Regions from separate parts of the Homo sapiens genome. Here region 1 is linked to region 2. The links are contacts of gene promoters, found by promoter capture Hi-C in human tissues and cell types (Jung and others, 2019). All regions are on one chromosome and are shown on one strand. Each heading gives the region's core, a stretch centred on a gene start or on the middle of the fragment in contact. The rest is flanking DNA. Distances are from core to core; before and after follow the strand shown.

Region 1 (2,913 bases), core at 199-2,698, 230 kb before region 2:
ACGGCAATCCTATTAGGCAAGTGCTAACATTCTACACATTTTACAGATGAGAAAACTGAGGCATGGAGAGATAAATGAATATGTCCAAAGACAAGGAGCTGGTAAGCCAGTGGAGGCACAAGCTGCACTCACATGGTCATGAATGCCTTTTGGGGACCCTGACTCCACAACTCTGTAAGCCATGTAGCTACTGTGCTTCCAGAAGACCTACCAATGGCCAGTCCCAAAGGCCTTTCTTTCCTCACTTGGCCCTGCTGTACCTCTCTGATGACAGCACAGGTGTCAGCCCCGCCTCCCCCGCAGCTTGTTTCTTCCTCTCTGTGGCTCCTCTGTTTCCTCTCTGCGTTCTCTCTTCCTCTGCTCTGTAAATGGAGGCATCCTCCAGGGTTCTTCCCCCATTCCTATTTTCCATCCTCTTTTTTCTTTCTCCCTTTCACTGGGACTTCTCACCAGAATGTATTGGATTTCATGTCAGGATTTAAAATCACCAGGACATTTAATGAGAGCTCACTGGATTTAATGTCAGGATTCTAAAGTTCCAGAGGGAAGGCCTTGGGTTCAGCTCCTTCATCCCTGGGGTCCTCTGTTCCCCCTGTGGTAACATGAAGGGGTGGTTCAGAGCAATGTTCTCACCTTGGTTGCCCACCAGCCCCACCTGGGGAGCTTTTATCAATATAATTGCCCAGCCTCCATCCAGACCAGTTACACAACAGCCTCTGGAGGCAGAACACAGGTGTCCATATTTGTAAAGCTCCTGGAATCTTTGACTTCCTGTCCATTGGTCCTCAGCAGTGGCCTTCCTCTCCATTCTCACCCTTTTCTAAGTGCCACCGTGGGCTTCTCGCTGGTCTCCTGCCTCCAGATTCCCCCTGATGATGCATGCCTCCCCCAAAGCCAGGTTTCATTTCCTAGAGAAAAGGTCCAGTCATATAATATGTCACCCTTGCTCAGAGACATGCAGTAGCTCCCCATTCTCTGCCAGGTTAAGGAAAGGGCCCTCACACAGGCATTCCCAGGTTTCCAGAGCATGGACCCACCTTTGCTGCACCAGTGACCTTCTGGTAACTTCCTCCAAACTACATGAGTCGTTCTTCAAGCACTGACTCACTTTCCTACCTATGACCTCTTTTCCCATCAACATCTGTTGAAATATTTTACATTGTGCAAAGCTTAATTCACATGTCCCCTTCTTCATGAAGTTCTCTTGATATCCTTTTCTTCCTTACAAGTCCCGATAGTTCTCCATACCTCTCCAGGAGCTCAGTGAGTGGTCTTCCTTGTTTATAGTTATTTGGACTCCCACATTTCTACATAGAAAAAAAATAACCTTCTGTCTCCTCCTCTCCCCACGAAGGGCAGGGCTTACAGGGAGCTTCTGCCCCTTGGTCTGCTCTCTTCATTGGCTATTTCCCACAAGAGAAAGAATTTAAGTCTCTGTTCAGATCGTTAGACATTTCTGGGGCCACATTTTCCCAGTGTAGGGCGCTATGTTGTGTCAGTGTTAGGAGCCAACTCTCCCTTTCCTCGTGTACTTCCTGCGCCCAGGCTTTCTACTGTTTCCTATCCCCACATAGGAAGCCCACTCCAAAAAGATGGAGCAATACCCGATATCTCTGTCCTTCCATGACAGGGTGGGTGGAGCAGGCTGATCACCTTCTCCTGATTGGCCAGGCAGATGGGTCTGCTCCTCAGAACCAGCCTTTCTGGATTCAAGGCAGAAAAGAGTAAGAGAAACACTCTGCCCTCCTAGCCAATGCTGAAGTCACACATTGGCATTCAGCTTGAAAGCTGAATGAGTGAAGATCTACATGGGACCCACCTCCCAGCCCTATGTGGGATCAGCATGCTGCTAATCTATTTCTCCCCGTGTGTGCCCTTCCTCTGAAGGGGCCCTGTGGTTAGACAGTGTGGGTAGCAGGATCCAAGTACCAAAACCACACCCTCAGTGCCTAACAGCATGCCCTTTGTCTTGGAGTTTTGCTTCCCTCCTTGCACAGAGGAAGTCCTCAGTGACCACCTGTTAAAATAAACTGAACTGACGCATTCTCTCCTTTCTATCACTCTCTGTATCAACCTTGGTGTCAGCATGTGCTTTTCTGGCTCCATGTCACCAGGGCACCCTCGAAGCTCAACTGCAAATCTGCTCAAAGAGGGGAGGGAACCCTGGGAAAGGGAGCCCAGCTCCAGGACATGCTCACTGTCAATACTCACATTGGGGAATAAGAATCAGGATCTATGTTCCTGGTGGGGACAAAGCCCACTTGTCCTGAACTTGTCGACTTTCCAATGAACCACTGAAGCCCAGGTATGACAAAGCCGATGATCTCAATGCTTTCTCCCTGGTAGAAATTCAGTTCATCCTTTTCTCCTGGCTCATAACCCGTCAAGGCCTTACAGCGTCCTCTGCCTGTGGAAAATAGCACACAGATCAGCTACAGAAGACATGAACAGCTGAGCCTCCCATCACCTTCCAATGCAATAGAAAATGAGGGGTTCCCAGACTTTAGAATGTCAAGGACCAGTAACATTTCACTCCCCTCCCCACCCAAAAATTGGCAGGAATGACACAGGACAATTTGCTTTTCATTTTGCCAAACTAGGACATATTTTTAAAAGAACTACAATCCACTTTCACCAAAGAAAAAATGTTTTAACAAACACAAAAAAAGATTCTCAGATAGCGGATATGCCTTAAAAATGAATAAACATAGCTTATGGGAAACTGGAAAGCTCACTGTATTGTCCTGGTTTGTCTGATTTTGCCACTGTAATGTAAATGCTTTGTCATGGTTGGCACAAATCCACAGACCAGTGTGTGAGAACCACTCGACCAGAGAAGCTCTCCATGTCCTTCCAGCTCCTTTGGCCTCTATGACCCTCAGTCTCCCCAACTGGAAAATGGGGATAATAGGA
Region 2 (2,700 bases), core at 112-2,611:
CGAAACGTCGTCTCTACTAAAAATACAAAAATTTGCCCGGAGTGATGGTGGGCGCCTGTAATTCCAGCTACTCAGGAGGCTGAGGCAGGAGAATTGCTTGAACCCGGGAGGCAGAGGTTGCAGTGAGCCGAGATCGCGCCACTGCACTCCAGCCTCGGCGACAAAGGGAGACTTTTCAAGAAAAAAAAAAAAGAAGAAAAGAAAATATTCCCAGTCCAGGAAAGTACAGGAGGGTCTTTCCCAGGCCTTTTGTTGCCTCCATACCTCTGTGGTAGCTGTTCCCTGTTCCAGAATGTTCTAAGTAGGGAACAGTGGTCAGCTCAAAGCTGAAAACCATGGCCTGGCCCATGGTGGGAGGAGCAGTGTCTAGGAGAACAATTGGTCCTGGACTTTATGAAGGGTCTTAAAGTCAGACATTTGATATTGTGTATAAATGAGTGAGACCTATTTTCACAGGGATATACTAATAAGGTGAAGAAGTTGACATTCTTCATACAGCTTTAAACTTAGATCCCATTACTGTTCCACACTGGTCATAGCAATATTTTCTACAATCTTGCGAAAAGTACACTTATATTGCACTGTATTTTGTATGCTAAAAGTATTCATTTCCACATTTTTTATCACCCTGTTCTGCATGTTTTCACGTGTTACTCATTTTTCTATTCTTTTTCTGAATTCTCCCAGATCCTCGTTATGTTTTCACGTTTTAGTACACAAGGAACCTCAAAAGTTGAAAGTGTCCCAAGCCCTTGCCCACCTTTCAGCAAGCCTCTCTTTCTCCCTTTCCCAGGTGCTTTTCTTTCTGAAGATCTTTGTTATTATTTAACTCCTCTTTCGCAACACCACTGACATTGCACCGGCATCGCCGCGGGCCCACTGTCTGGCTTAGAAGGTGCTCAAGAAAGACCCGCGGCGAATGGAGAAGACAAGCCCAAAGCCAGGAAATGGGTGGCGGCTGCAGGGAAGGGGGTTTTGATTCCCTAGGATAAAAACGCGCTCCAACAGTCTCCGCATTCCGGCATGGAGCCGGCTGAGGGGTGCGGTGGTAAGACCCCATCGCTAGCGGAGTGCAAGCAAAGCCGCACACCTCCTGGGTCCGGGCTGGGGCAGGCCGCGCGGGCGCGGGAACGAACGCGTGCGGACGGGGAAAAGGGTCCTCCAAGCCCAAGTGGGAGCGCCGCGGAGGGCGAGCGAGCGGCAGGGCGCGGCGGGGCGTGTGCGGCACCACGGGACAGCGGGCTGCGGCCCAGGGGGCGAGGCGTGCTCGGGTCTATTCCGGGAGCGGCTCTGAGGGGCGGGCGCGGGCGCGGGCGGGGCGGGGGCTGCCGGCGAGCATCCTGTCTGGGGGAGGGGACCGCAGAGAGCGCCGGCCGCTGGGCTGGCCTGAGAGCGCAGCGCGCCGGCCGCTACCAGCCGCGCCGGAGCCCCTGCGCCCTGCGGCCCGCTCCCCGGGGACCGGGCCGGCGCCATGGACCGAGGCCAGGGTAAGAGGGGCCGCGACGCCCGCACTTGTTGCGGCGCCGGGCGGGAAAGGGAGACTGGACGATCTGAAGCCGGAGAGGAGGAGGGAGAGAGGCGGGCGGTGGGGCGGGGGCTGAGGAACGCTCGGAGGGGACTGGGAGACGCGGCGCTTATGCAAAGGTGCCTTCGGCTGCCGGGACAACCCGGTGCGTGTCAACGCCCGTGTCCTGGGGCCAACTCGCCTCTCGTGTGTGAAATCAGAGTTTTCATAGGCTAACGATTTGTAACTTCATAAAAGATCCCCCTCTAGTTTCCGGAGGACAGCGAGCTCCTCCCACCTCATTCCACTCTAAAGGGGAAAACAAGGTGTACAGGTTCAACTCCCGAAACACCCGCTGTGGGCAGCCCCTAGGGAGAAGCTCTAGGGGACCGAAGTTTGCAGCTGCCTAGGGCATTGCGAGAAGGAGGAGCGCCGTGAGCAGGCGCGCGTGTGCATGCATGTGTGCGCCAGGGAGGGAGGAGGCGGGGGTGGTTCTATCCCGCACCAGCTGTGTCCTCGGCCCAGCCCTTCTCTCTGGACCAGCGACAAAGTTGGACTAGATGGTCTCCAAGGCACCTTGCCGACCCTTTTCCAGTGTATTTGGTAGACGTTTCACAGAAGTGGAGGGGACTTACTGAAATTGAGATTGACATAAGCCGAGAGGGCAGCATTCGTAGGGGGCTAGCGCACATTTTTTTCTGTTTGTTTTGTTTTGTTTGAGACGGAGTTTCGCTCTTGTTGCCCAGGCTGGAGTGAAGTGGCGCGATCTTGGCTCACTGCAACCTCCGCCTCCCGGGTTCAAGCGATTCTCCTACCTCAGCCTCCCGAATAGCTGGGATTAGAGGCATGCGCCACCACACCCGGCTAATTTTTGTATTTTTAACAGAGACGGGGTTTCACCATATTGGCCAGGCTGGTCTGGAGCTCCTGACCTCAGGTGATCAGCCGGCCCCGGCCTCTCAAAGTGCTGGGATTACGGGCGTGAGCCACCGCGCCCGGCAGCGCACATTTTAAGTAAAGGTCTAGACATGGCCTTTGGCAATGGCCAGATGGGCATGTGTGTGTCTGTAAAGAAGTGGCCTGCTTGGACATGTGAACAGTGTCAGAGGCTGGGAATCAGAACCCCAGGGTTTCAGTCTGCACCTCTGGGATCCAAAGAGATCACAGGTGTGACGGCACTAGATAAACTAGTGAGT

What was found. The method cuts DNA at HindIII sites, captures the fragments that hold promoters and counts their contacts. A contact is called where the count stands out against the background at its distance.
Region 1: a contact is called between a fragment that was not itself captured here and the fragment with the promoter of AFAP1L1 in region 2, in 1 of the 25 tissues and cell types used here (heart left ventricle).

Annotation. Positions count from the first base shown.
Region 1 is chr5:149,036,084-149,038,996 of GRCh38, forward strand. It overlaps SH3TC2 (SH3 domain and tetratricopeptide repeats 2), which reads right to left. Exons shown (of 17, transcript NM_024577.4): 8 at 2,212-2,407. Among named protein-coding and RNA genes, the nearest start is that of MIR584, 25 kb to the right of the region's middle. The HindIII fragment of the contact is 8,887 bases long and covers 1-2,913 here.
Region 2 is chr5:149,270,498-149,273,197 of GRCh38, forward strand. AFAP1L1 (actin filament associated protein 1 like 1) reads left to right here and starts at 1,362. Exons shown (of 19, transcript NM_152406.4): 1 at 1,362-1,487. The coding sequence starts at 1,472. RefSeq lists enhancers at 1,341-1,880, 1,881-2,422, 2,423-2,700. The HindIII fragment of the contact is 7,342 bases long and covers 1-2,700 here.